2 separate regions of the Homo sapiens genome follow, and region 2 is linked to region 1. The links are contacts of gene promoters, found by promoter capture Hi-C in blood cells and fetal thymus (Javierre and others, 2016). All regions are on one chromosome and are shown on one strand. The core of a region is centred on a gene start or on the middle of the fragment in contact, and the rest is flanking DNA. Distances in the headings are between cores, read along the strand shown.

Region 1 (6,830 bases), core at 3,145-5,644:
CACACCAAGGAGGAGAGGACAAGCCAAGACAGAAGCTTCAACGTAACCCTGCACAGACCACTCTAGAACCAAGCCATGTTCTGTGGTGCCCTGCTTTCTCACCACCACCATCATTGTGGGCTTTTACCTTGTTGCCATTTCTACAGTGCCTTATTGAGTGCTTTGATGTCTGGGATATCTTATTTATTCCATACAGAGCTCCCAAGCTGGAGTCCATCTTGCAGAAGTTGGCATCGCTGGTTAAACTCATTCTGTGTTTCCTGATCAGCAGTTTCAACAATTTCAATGATGAAGTGCAAACACTTGCAGCTGAGGAAGGGAAACATGTAAAGGACAGGCTGGAGTTGAGAGTGAACTTCTTGGCCTCCAAAGCAGTCAGGATTGTCTCTAGGACTTTCCCACACCCCTGACACTGTCCATGGTGCCCACTAGGGACACAGTGCACCTTTCCTTCCTTGTCATTAAGCCTCGCAACAAGCAGGCAGAGTAGATACAACCTTCTCCTGCTGTGCAGATGTAGAAACTCAGGTTAAAAGATGTTATGTAACTTCCTAGAAGCAAAAGAGCCAGGAAAGCATTGGTAGGATTTGAACCCAGATAAGTGTGACTCCAAGGCCACATGCATTCCACTTAGTTTTACTTGTCTTCATCAGGAAGAGAAAATAAAAGGGCTGCAATGCCTAGCCCCCAGGGAGAAGGACAATTTTCTAGCATCATTCAAACTATCCTTTCTGCCTACCTCTTTTCCCACCTGCTCCCATACATCGTGAAGACTGGCAGGCCACCTTTCTGGGGAGTTTCTTCTTCTTAGTCAGCTCTCTCCCACAGCTCACACCTCCCTAGAAACAGAGAGAAACCAGTGGGTACTCCTATTAGTTCAGTGGTTCTCAAACTTGAGCTGCATCGGAATCACCCAAAGGGCAGGTTATAGCACTAATTTCTGGGTCCTACTTCCAGATGTTTCGGGCTGGTAAGTGTTGCCATTCTTTTACAAGGCCAACATACAAATCCAGAGTTCTCCTTTAAAATCTGCAAGAATCAAAGATTTTTCCACCTCCTTTGAGAAACAGTTTAGTCAATGCTATCCCCTTGTTAAACCAAACAACCTCAATGTCTATGGCTGGGAGAATAAATAAATTATAGTATATTCACACAGTAGAAAACCATAAAGCAATGAAAATTAATAAACTGCTGCTACCACATCAATATGGATGAATCTTGCAAATATCATTTTAAATGAAATATCAAGTCACAAAACAATACCTATGATATGATGCCATTATATACTAAAATATGCATATATATTGTTTAGAAATATATGCATAAATGGTAAAAACTATAAAGAAAAATATCAAAATCATAAGAAAAAATAAATTCAGTGTGATTGTTACCTCCGGGGGGAAACATAAAGAAATAAATTGGAAAAAGCATTCAGTACAAAGAAAGCAATAGTATAAAACAGTAAAAAATAGTTCTTTTTAAAAGGTAGATCGTTGGGCCAGGCGTGATGGCTCACGGCTAAAATCCCAGCACTTTGAGAGGCTGAGATGGGTGGATCACCTGAGGTCAGGGGTTTGAGACCAGCCTGGCCAACATGGCAAAACCCCATTTCTACTCAAAATACAAAAATAGCGGGACATGGTGGCAGGTGTCTGTAATTCCAGCTACTCAGGAGTTTGAGGCAGGAGAATCACTTGAAACAGGAGGCAGAGGTTGCAGTGAGCTGAGATAGCGCCACTGCACTCCAGCCTGGGTGACAGAGTGAGACTCCATCTCAAAAAAGTAACAACAAAAAAAAGTAGATCGTTGTTCATGGGTATTGGTTTTACCATTATGTACCATCACTTATATATTATAAATATTCTTTTATAAATATATCATACTTGAATTAAAAACATAATTTAAAGAAATTAAAATGTTAAGCATTCAAAGAATATATGCCAAAATGTTACATTTCTTTCGGAAAATGGGAAGAGGAAGCATTATGGCATACTGTCATTTTTCATATTCTATAATTCTATAGCATATTTGATCTTCATGATGTTTCTATTTGAAAAAAGATTAAAGATTAAAGAAAAAATAAATTGAAGTCATGCAACATGAAATACAAATTATGTATGATTTGTATGTACAAATTGTATGAGATGTATGTACAAATCATGTAAGAGGACATTCTGGACAAGGCAAGCTCCTGGCATTTGACAGATGCTAATGCTGCTTCTTTTTGCATTACAGGCTTAGACAAATGATGCTTGAGACACACCAAGATACCTGCACACTAGAGGCTGCAGTCACCTCAGAAGAAAGATGCCCCCTGCTCTGGCTGGTCAAACGGAACCAAGTCCGTCTTCCTGAGAGGTTTGGTCCCCTTCAACCAGCTACAGCAGGGCTGGCAATGCCCAGTCCTTGGAGAAACAGAAGAGATTCAACTGCAACTGAAATTACCTACTAAAACTTTCCTTGAGAAAACAATTCTGGTTTTTTCACCATATTCTTATGCTCCCAGGAAGGAAGAGAAGAGGAGTCCTGGAGTCAAAAGTGAGCAAGATTTTAATGCTCAACACACACTGTTCTGTGCCTTTGCACTCACAGCTGCAGCCACTTACATGCTTTTGACAGACACACAGTCAAGAAAGAGTTTGAGGATGGAGTTTGTGCCAACCCTAAGCCAGCCAGGGGAAGAGCATGAGACATAGAAGACAGGGCTCCTGCTCACTAGGGGCTAACAGTCTAAGGAAAGAAATTAGACATGTATATATGGTGTGATCCAATTGAATTGCAAGTTATAGCATGGCTAGTTCCAAGGCATAATTCTTACCTATCCCACCAAATATGCCTAGCACATTATGTATCATCAAGTCTCTATTGATCTATTCAGCCCAAGATATCTATTCACTAAGCAATCATTTCTCAGTTCCCTGATCTGTAGAATAGGGATAATAGTACCTGTCACACCAGGCACAGTGGCTTATGCCTAAAATCTCAGCATTTGGGGTGGCTAAGACAGGGGATTGCTTGAGGCCAGGAGTTCCAGATCAGCCTGGTCAACATAGCAAGATGCTGTTTCTACCAAAAAAAAATTTTTTTTGTTTTAATTAGCTGAATGCGGTAGTGCACACCTATAGTCCTAGCTACTTGGGAGGCTGAGGCAGGAAGATCACTTAAGTCCAGGAGATGGAGGCTGTAATGAGCTAAGTTCTCATAATCGCTACCTTTTACTAAGGGAGAATTCTGACCTGTCCTTCCAGTTTATCTTTTAAGATTTGTATCTTTTATGGTGTGTGTCTGGAACTTAGACAGTAATAAGTAAATATTTGGGTTTAAAATTCTATAGACATGTGTGTTCACATGCTGTATTCTGACACAAATGGGGTAGCATAAGTGCCTAGAGCCCACCACAGTGACCTCAGAGGAGAACACAGAGCTTACTAGCACAAATCTTTGCATTCAGGAAGACCTGGGGTTGAATGCTGCCCCTCTAATTTATTAGCTGTGATATATCCTCTCCGCAGCTCAATTAACATTGCACAAGCCTTAGTTTACTCATCTGTAAAATGGGGACAATGATACCAACCTCAGTTACCGTAAGGCTTAAAACAGACAGTGTTAATAAAGAGCCAAATATAAGCCCTTAAGAAATAGTAGCTGTTGTTTTACTGCTGTAAATGGCAACAGCACAAGGACAATGCTGTGTCCACAGGCACTTGTATGTAGAAGGAAAGAGCCAAATTAAAAAAAAAATAGGAGAAGAACTCAAAAAATACATAAAGGCTCATTGCTCACTGTAGGGTTTTGTTTTTTGTTGTTGTTGTTTTGTTTTTGTTTTTGTTTATTTTTTGAGACAGGGTCTCACTCTGTTGCCCAGATAGGAGTGCAGTGGCACGATTTCAGCTCACTGCAACCTCCGCCTCCCAGGCTCAAGCGATTCTCCTGCCTCAGCCTCCCAAGCAGCTGAGATTACAGGCACGCACCACTACCACCCGACTAAGTTTTATATTTTTAGTAGAGACAGGGTTTCACCATGTTGGCCAGGCTGGTCTTGAACTCCTGACCTCAAGTGATCCGCCCGCCTTGGCCTCCCAAAGTGCTGGGATTACAAATGTGAGCCACCGTGCCCAGCCTATAGGGTATTTTTATATTCCAACTATTAATTCTACTAGCATGTAGCATACATGCATTCACCCTAGTACATATGACTAGCATATAATATGCTTTACTTTTAAAAAATGCTTTATACATGAGACTGATCTTACCATCTTCAATATCCTGTCTGGAAAGCCTTCATTTGTGAGTGCTGTTGAGATCACATGTCCTCCCAAGTAGGACATGGAGTGTGAAGGCCATTGAGTGGGTGTTCCAAAGGGCAGCACAGAATGGAGTTTAGTTGAAGGTGCTGGGGACACACTACCTGGGCTCAAGTCCCAGCTCCCCACTCTCCAGCTGTGCCACTTGAGCAAGTTGCTTGACCTCTCCAGGCCTGGGTTTCCTCATCTGTAAAGTAGGAATATTGATAATAATATCTACTTCATAGAGTTTCATGAGAATACATGTAAAGGCCTGAAACCAGTATTGGGTACATAATAATACATTCTTAAGAGTCTTTATTTCTGACAATGTACCTGAAATGTTCCTGAAATTAAGTTGGTGTTCAATAAAAACATGTTCACTGAAAGATCAGCTTCTTTGTTTATTTTAAGCACAAACTATGGGATCATGTAATTTTTGGTTCAACTATTTCTACTTATCTCTTTCAATGCAGCACACTGGTTCAAAGCAGTAGTAAGGTGTGGGGGAAGGATGGCAACAAGCTTCTCTCTGCTTCCCAGGTCTGTGATGAAATGGAACTTCCCTGCGAACTAGGGGTATGCCTCTGGGAGTAGAAGCAGGGTGATCTTGAAGCGCAGTCGCAGAGCTGTCACCCGGAAGTCACCTGGCAGAACAGAAAACAAACATGATGTGGCCAAATACCAGCTGTCCTTAACAGGAGGGATCTTTTCCATCTGGAAGGGCAGAGGTCATGTAGGTAAAGATTAGATAACAATGCCAGGTATAGGTAAAAGGAGTGTTAAAAAAGGGTCACTTTCATATTTGGGATATTATGGCTAAAATGCCTGATAAAACTGGACAAGACATATAAGGCTAAGACTAAATAATGTCTTCTCTCTGTTAGAAAGAAGCCAGCCAGGCCAGGCATGAGGGTTCTTGTCTATAAATCCCAGCACTTTGGGAGGCCAACGCTGGCGGATCTCTTGAGCTCAGGAGTTCAAGACCAGCCTGAGCAAAACTCCATCTCTACAAAAAATACCAAAAATTAGCTGGGCACAGGGATGGGGACGCTGAGGTGGGAGGATCGCTTGAGCCCAGGAGTTTGATTGAGGCTGCAGTGAGCTGCGATGGCACCACTGCACTCCAGCCTGGGTGACAGAGTGAGACCCTGTCTCAAAAACAAAAGAAAAAAAAAGAAGGAAAGAAGAGGGAGGGAGGTAGAGAGGGAGGGAAGGAGTGAGAGAGGGAGGGAAGGAAGGAAGGAAGTTAAGAAGGGAGAGAGGGAGGGAGGGAGAGAAAGAAGGTAAAGGAAAGGAAGGAAGGAGAGAGAAAGGAATAAAGAAAAAGAAAAGGAGAGGAGGGGAGGAGAGGGAAGGGGAGCAAGCTAGCACACTTCTGGCAAGGGTTGGAGAACATGAGTGAACATTGTCATCCAACTTTCTACCTATCCCCTTGCCCTCAAGGGTCTTTGCAGAACACATCTTTGAGGGCCACAGGATGGAAGGAGTTCTAGTCATAGCCTGCCTCCAAAGTCAAAATATCGTACTGTCCCCTCTTATTCACTCCTGGAGAATTCAACTTCCATTCACATTTCTGTTTGATTTTCCTTAAACCAGGAGGGGAGCAAATGTATTCCTGCTCCCACTCACCACTATAAAAAGACAGAACCTTTAAGAAAACATGTTTTCTGGTAAGTTTGAATGACCTTGATATCCATGTTCAAAGGTCCCACAAGCCCAAACTCTCCATTTCCGTAAGAAATCAAGAGGAATCAGAGAATGGGGACTGCTGCCCACGGGTTGCGGTTGCTCATCCTGCCACAGCCCCTCTTCAGGGCAGAAATCTAGGTTAGGCCACCCAGTGGGGTGTGTGGTTTTGTGATTGCTGCTGTGTCCCTTTATGTGTGTTCCTGTATCATCATCAGTCCTGTGCCAGTAAGTGGCAGCCCATGATGTCACACCGGTCAAACATGACGACTCTTGGTCACCCTCAGAATGGACCCCACCCCCACATCTGGTGAGTGTTGGGAGGAAGAAAGTGATAGCACAGGCGTGCTGAAGGAGCTCTTCCCCGGAAGGAGTTGACGGAAAATAGTGCGGGGCTATCTAACTGGCAGGAATCCAGACAAACAAGAAAATCCCATTAGTGCAGTCCATCAACGAGTTTCTTTCTGATGGTAATTCCCAGGGCTGGCAAGACTGTTAGAAAACAGCAGCTCATACATAGCTGGGAGTGAATATAGGTCTATACTCTTCAAAGCATCATTTATCAATACATAGGCATCAAGAAGGCTATTATCTTCTCTGCCCAGAATCTTCTCTTTCTCTGTTAACAGCTCAGTCTCCCTCCCTTGGCTATTCTTTTTTTTTTTTTTTTTTTTTTGAGATGGAGTCTTGCTCCATTGCCAGGCTGGAGCGCAGTGGTGCAATCTCAGTTCACTGCAACCTCTGCCTCCTGGGTTCAAGTGATTCTCCTGCCTCAGCCTCCCAAGTAGCTGGGACTACAAGCACCCACCACCACGCCTGGCTAATTTTTGTATTTTTAGTAGAGACGGGGTTTCACTA
Region 2 (6,830 bases), core at 2,931-5,430, 1.3 Mb before region 1:
CTTAATGTGTTGGCATTAAGAAACGAGGCCTTTGGGAGGTGACCAGGTCAGGAGGGCAGAGTCCTGGTGAATGGGATTAGCGCCCTTATAAAAGAAGCCTGAGGGCTAGGTACGGTGGCTCATGCCTGTAATCCCAGCAGTTTGAGAGAGCGAGGCAGGTGGATCACCTAAGGTTGAGAGTTCGAGACCAGCCTGGTGAACATGGTGAAACCCTGTCTCTGCTAAAAAAAAAAAAAAAATATATATATATATATATAAGAAATTAGCTGGGCATAGTGGCAGGCACCTTCAGTCCTGCTAGTCAAGGTGGCTGAGGAGGAGAATCGCTTGAACCCAGGAGGTGAAGGTTGCAGTGAGCTGAGATCGCGCGACCGCACTCCAGCCTGGGTGACAGAGCAAGACTCCATCAAAAAAAAAAAAAAAAAAGCGTGAGAGCTTGTTTGCCCCTTTTGCCTTTCCACCATGTGAGGTAACCATCTATTGGAACAGGCCCTCACCAAACACTGAATCTACTGGTTAACTAATCTTGGTCTTCCCAACCTCTAGAACTGTGAGCAATAAAATGGTGCTGTTTATAAACTACCCATTCTAAGGTATTCTTTTTGGCCATACATAAAAACTTATTTTTATTGCAAACAAACAAAAAAGAAGAAGAGAAAGAGAGAAAATGGTCAGAAATACAACACATAAGATTAGGAATTTAACAGCATCCTACATTCTGTCCTAATGGCAGCATAATTAATAGGAATGAATGGTCATGTTGCTTCCTGCCACAGCTGGGAAGTATTTTTTTTATAGCAGCTCCTACAAATTAAGACACGGTTTTCTTATCCTTTCTTTGTTTGCTTTCTTCTAAGATCGTATTCCTAAAAAATTTTTGTGATTATCATTTACTAAAAGATTGGAACCAATTATTTTAAACTCTCTCACAGAGGGCTCCAGAAAGATGAGGCTTGCTGCAACATGCTCAGAAAGAACACTTTCATTTAAATTTTTTTGGCTGGTCCCAGTGGCTCACATCTGTAATCTCAGTGCTTTGGGAGACTGAGGAAGGATTGCTTGAGGTCAGGAGTTCAAGACAAACCTGGTCAACATAGCAAGACCCCGTTTCTACAAAAATAAAAATAGAAATTAGCTAGGTGTGGTGGCATGCACCTGTAGTCCCAGCTACTGGGGAGGCTGAGGTGGGAGGATTTATTGAGCCCAGGAGGGTGACGCTGCAGTGTTCATGTGATCACGCTACTGCACTCCAGCCTGGACAACAGGGTGAGACCCTGTCTCAAAAGAGTAATATTTAAAATAAAAAAATTAATTAATTACTACTTGATGCTTTTATCAGTTTCATAAAGTCCATTCCTATGGAAGAAGCTTGCATATCACCTAGTAAATTCTCCTTTTTTTTTTTTTTTTGAGACGGAATTTTGTTCTTATCCCCCAGGCTGGAGTGCAATGGCGTGATCTTGGCTCACTGCAACCACCACCTCCTAGATTCAAGCGATTCTCCTGCCTCAGCTTCCCAAGTAGCTGGGATTACAGGCGTGCGCTACCATGCCCATGTAATTTTGTACTTTTAGTAGAGACGGGGTTTCACCATGTTAGCCAGGCTATTCTCAAACTCCTGACCTCAGGTGAAACACCCACCTCAGCCTCCCGAAGTGCTAGGATTGCAGGCATGAGCTTCTGGCCGAATTCTCCTCATTTTATCAACGAGAAAACTGAGATCTGGAAAGGTCAGAGGACTTGCCAAAGGGAATATAACTGGTAAGTGAAAAACTCATCTTATGTCAAAGAAATAAAAAAGAGGCATAAAATGAAGATCCTTCCCTATTTTTATCAGAATGTCAAATCGTGAATTTTAGGAAGTAGTTCCAATATAATGCTAATTTCTCCCAAATGTCCCTTGTATTTATGAGACACTTCAGCTCTGATGCTATACATTGTATGTGTTTATTCATGCTTTAAAGGTTATATTTCTGCTCTACATCTTTCAAAGTCTTTATTTGCAAATTTTTTTCCTCACAGATGTGTACTGGTCTACTGGTTGCATTTTGAAACCAAATTGTTTAGTATTCTCACCCTTCAAGATTTCTCCTTCTTAAAGCAATAATATGGAAAACATCCACAATGATGAAAGTACCTGTCCTCCTGCATTAGTCATGGCAGAGGAGACACACACCTCTCACATTTTGAATGTGAAATGCCCATTGGTGTTGAAAACAATTGTTGCATGGCTGTTTGCATCATTTGCTTCAGCCCCTCATCTTCCTTTCCTTAACCTCTTTACCTCCAAGAGATAGGAATTTCAAAACTGTCCCCTTAGCCACTTCATACCCCCGTAGTTAAACAGAAAAGCTTAAGGGGATCAGGACATCTAAAATCTATAATGAAATTACTATTGCTCCTCAAAAGTCCCAGGGAAAGGGTGAGTTTTCACAGTTACAGTTATTTTTATTCTCACAAGTGATTTCAACTCAGTATCTTTTACAAATTTACAAATGTACCATCAACTAAATATTATGATTAAAGTAAGAAATGCTCTTTCCTGTTTAGTGCTTGCCTCAATCTCGATAATTATGAAGAGTCAGTCTAAAGATAACCCCACCCACATTTCATTTTTTAAAAACACTCCTGTGCAAACATTAGTCCCTCCTATTTTGTTTCCTCATACCAAGTCACTGAAACCTATATGGTATCAAAGCCCTAGAAATCTGAAGGCAGGTGCTTAAATTGTAGTTTCAGACATTCAACAGTATTTTGTTTCCAAATTGATGATAAAAACACCTACTGAATCTTCCCCAAAAATATAATCATGAGAAAGCTTAAGACAGAAACATGGTAGGAAAATTAGGAGCCAGACTGCAACAGTAAAAAATGGAGCTGTCATGTTTTATCATTTTTTAACTTATCAAGATCTGTTATATGGATGTCGTGTCTTATTATTCAACTCAGCAGACAATAATGCTTCTGATGGGTAAGAGGTGGGGCAATATCTGAGGATGCTGAAGTAAGACAGTTTTTCCTTCCTCTCTTCTTTCCTTTGCCTACTTATAAATCCAGGACTATAAAAAATAACCCTGGACATACTCAATGATCCAAAAATACTGTCTTCTTAACTTCAGAAGGAAAGAAGTAAGACAGCATCATGAGACTGTGGGCAAAGCGTTGAGTACACAGTCTGAAGACCTATATTGGGTTTCCCACCTCCACTTTCTAACCAGGAGTTTATTGCAAATCCCTGGTTTTTAGAAGCCTCCACTTTCCTGACCCCCCGCTAAGTGTTTTGAGACAATGATGATAAGTTAAATTGTTTATGAAGCAATAGTACCACATATATTTACCCACAGATACTATTTTAATAAATTTTCACAATCATTTCCATTTTGTAGTTCAGTGCACTGAACCTCAGGCTATTAAATAGCCTGCCCCACCGCCTAGAATGAGAAAGGCCAGGGTGCAAACTTGGCACAATAATTCTAATTCTTGACTTTTCTAATTTTATTATTTTTGTGCGTTGGGTAGATGGAAAGGGGAAACCCAGGGAGACTGTGTAATGGAAAAAGAAAAGGTGGTACAGTGGGCATCTGCAAAGGAAGATAGTTCATGGAGTGTTAACCCACAGGTGCAAAGGTGAGGGCTAGTGGAAGGAAGGAAGTCAAATAAATTTAGATAATTCATAATTAGATTTTTAGAAGAAAGATGAAAGAAGACATGAAAGTGCTCCTAGTTGACCTTGATTTAATAATGATATTTTTCTGTACATTTTTTAAAAAACAGTCCTGAACATACTTCGAAAATCACCAGCAGAGGGCTTCATGCTGGGTGCATTTGCTTTTAATTATAGACTCCGACATTTACTGAATAATATTCCCTCTATATGAGGCTGAAAAAAAAAGAGGGTATGAATAATTCTTTTCTTTGCTGTTTTAAACTGAAATAAATGCAAATGAAAGAGGAAAGTACGAGTGTTAACTATCTGGGATGTCTCAAGTGCGGTTCCACCTAGGAGAGCATGTGCGTAACCTGAAAAAGAAATATGGACATAAGGCAAGATAAAATAACGAGGAAAATGCATATTTTACTCGTTTAATTTCCTTCAAATCCAGAGTTTGTTTTGCCTTTGTGTTTCCATTTACTGAGTTCTTGCGGGAATAGTTTCCCTACGTCATGTGATTGAGTGATAACGCGAAAGGTAATAGAAAGTAAAAGCAAGAGAGGTAGGTTCAAGTTAGGAAAAATTTTCTCCGTAGCGGCTGAGCTTTTATTGTGCGTTTCTTCGGGCGTTTGAACTTTTTAGATGCTGGAACGATCGTTTCTAAAATTAGTAAATATCATAAGAAGTGAACTTTAAAAATGTTCCTCTCAATACCAGGTTTTCAAGAACGGAAAGAAACCTTTGCCGAAAAAGAAATCAAGGAGACTTGCAGGGTTTGCGTCTATAAAATTCCGACAGAGGGCGCTGTTGCCCGTTCAATGACAGGGAACGGTCCGTGGGAACGGTTTACCTTGCAATGTCTAGGACTTTTCGAATAACGCCCACGTTAAAAAAAATAACTAGGATTTTAATTATGGTTATGTATTTTGAAGGTATTTCTCTATATATATGTGTATATTTTTAGGTTTATGCTTCATTCTTAATAAAACCAGATTTGTTATTTTTCAGGTTTCCTAAAGAACTTAAATTTTAACCAAATATCTCAAGATATTTCCACTTTAAAAAATACCTAATACTAGCATAAAATAAAATTACACATAAAAAGTTTGAAATTATTCATATATAAGGCTATAAAATAGTTATACTAACACAATACCTTATATTATTTTAATTTATGTGTAAAATTATCTCTTGCAGGTTTTGTTTTGTTAAATCTCAGAGTTTATTTATTTTAGACTAGGCAATAATATACCAAAAAGATATTAAAAGGTGTTAAAAGCATTTAGAGAAAAAAAGTGAGATTTTTCCAAATGCATTTTATTTGGGTTGTAATGATCTTTAGGTAATAACAATGACAGAATTATTGATTTGAAAGGGAGAAAACAATTATTTCCATTAATTAAATGTCTTGTGCCTGGAGAATCTGAACTTCCAAGTCTATAATATTTATCTTTCAGATTATTGATCTGGCACTGATTTTAGTTCTAGAAGTCAGGGGGTGTGGAACCCGTTTCAAGTCCCACCACACAATAAGATTAAGAAAAATCCCTTCTCATCTCCTAACTAGCTCTGGAAGCAAAGAAGAAAATCTTTGCTGATGCTCCTAGTGAAAAATCTGTATAGATTGTGTATGATTTAAGGTTAACATTTAAAGGGGAAGAAAGGAATGGAGAGAGAAAGGAAGGAACGAAAAGGGAAATGAAGGAAAGAAAAAAGGAAAACAAAAAGGAGGAAGAGGAGAAAAGGAAAGACGAAACATAAAAAATTCAACCGGAAATAAGGGGTTTATTTCTGAAGTTCCTTCTGAAGCACCTTCTTTGTGTTCTTTTCCTTTGACTTATCTTTAAAAATTAAATTAAAAATCTGCAGAATTGTTTATTCTGCAGTTCATGAAGCTTCTCCTTGGTTTTGATTGAATCGACGTCCAACAAGGTTGTCCGGAGCCCTGTACTCAAACAGCGTCCATCCCTGTTCGCGCAGAGCTGCACACAGCAGTCCTGGATTTAAAGACAATCACCCTTTGCAGATTCACTCTCACCAGGCTTAATAACTTCCACCCCAAATTGCCCCATCCCTCCTCGGTCCCTCCTGGCATTTCTTTTCTGTCCCAGGCGCAGAGATCCTCTTCTGGGCGTCTGTTCCGGCTATGAGAAGCTCTCCGCACCCTGAAAGGGAGTAGAAAAACAGAGGGGATGGGAAAGGGGGAACAGGGGAACAGATGAGTATTCATTTCATGATAAAATTCAGAATCCCTGCGCCTTAAATGGTGCCCATTTTCTAAGTCTGGTTAATATTGTTCTTGTTGCTGATGATGTTTTCCTTTTTAAAAACTATATGAATCATCTTATTAAGAAAAATTATACAAAAAAAAGAAGAAACTCCACATGCACTAAAATATTTTTCACTATCTCTTTGAAGACATTCTGCTTAAACCTTTTCAAAGATTCGGGTGGCCCTTTCTTGACTCTCCATGATTAAAACCACTTACAAGTCATACACAACAGATGCAAATATAAAATGTCCTTGGCCTCTGCAAAAAAGGCTCAAAATTAACCTTGTCTGAACGTGTGCGTACGTTGCTTCCAACATCTGAAAAAAACTTGATAAAATGGAGACTCCAGCCAAGAGGAATGGTGCATGGAATCCGTTGAAAATGCATACAAACAACACCTAAAATAACAAGCAGCACAAACTGAGGTGTATTTAAGTTTCCAAAGGTTTTAGGTAAAATGACCAGAAAATATTAGAAATGGTCATCAACGGTGGCTAGCTTTTTTGTTCTATGGTGACAGAGATAAAGTTAAAAAAAAAAAAGTTGTGTAGCCATCAACACAGAGATAGTCCTTAAAATCCCCCATATCCAGCCTTTCAAAATACTCTCTTCCGGAACATACATGAATAGGAGGGAGCTTTTGTGTTTAAAAATCTTGGTAAGTGTCCCCCTTTAAAATCTACATAGAAAATAGGGGACTGATGGCCCCTGGTTTCTCATTATGAATTGCAAAGACTTCAGTTAGTGGCTACAATGATGTGTCATTTTCGATATAGAAGTTATAAAATGTATATATTATATTAATCACCCTGAACAACTCTTTGTTAAATGCACATTTGGAGTCTGCAGACTGTGTGACCCAGAGGTGCTTATATAACTATATGTGGGTGTCTGGGTGTAAATACG

Evidence for each region. The method cuts DNA at HindIII sites, captures the fragments that hold promoters and counts their contacts. A CHiCAGO score of 5 or more calls a contact.
Region 2: a fragment that was not itself captured here is called in contact with the fragment with the promoter of LINCMD1 in region 1 in 1 of 17 cell types (neutrophils); the score reaches 9.8 in neutrophils.

The regions. Positions count from the first base shown.
Region 1 is chr6:52,146,629-52,153,458 of GRCh38, forward strand. It overlaps LINCMD1 (long intergenic non-protein coding RNA, muscle differentiation 1), which reads right to left and starts at 4,395. Exons shown (of 3, transcript NR_131248.1): 1 at 4,254-4,395; 2 at 740-839; 3 at 186-309. MIR133B (microRNA 133b) reads left to right here and starts at 2,295; the gene lies at 2,295-2,413. RefSeq lists an enhancer at 6,223-6,517. The HindIII fragment of the contact is 4,773 bases long and covers 34-4,806 here.
Region 2 is chr6:50,811,828-50,818,657 of GRCh38, forward strand. LOC124901490 (a long non-coding RNA gene) reads right to left here. Exons shown (of 2, transcript XR_007059923.1): 2 at 5,418-5,817. It also overlaps a transcript of TFAP2B not described here. Among named protein-coding and RNA genes, the nearest start is that of TFAP2B, 3.6 kb to the right of the region's middle. The HindIII fragment of the contact is 2,729 bases long and covers 2,817-5,545 here.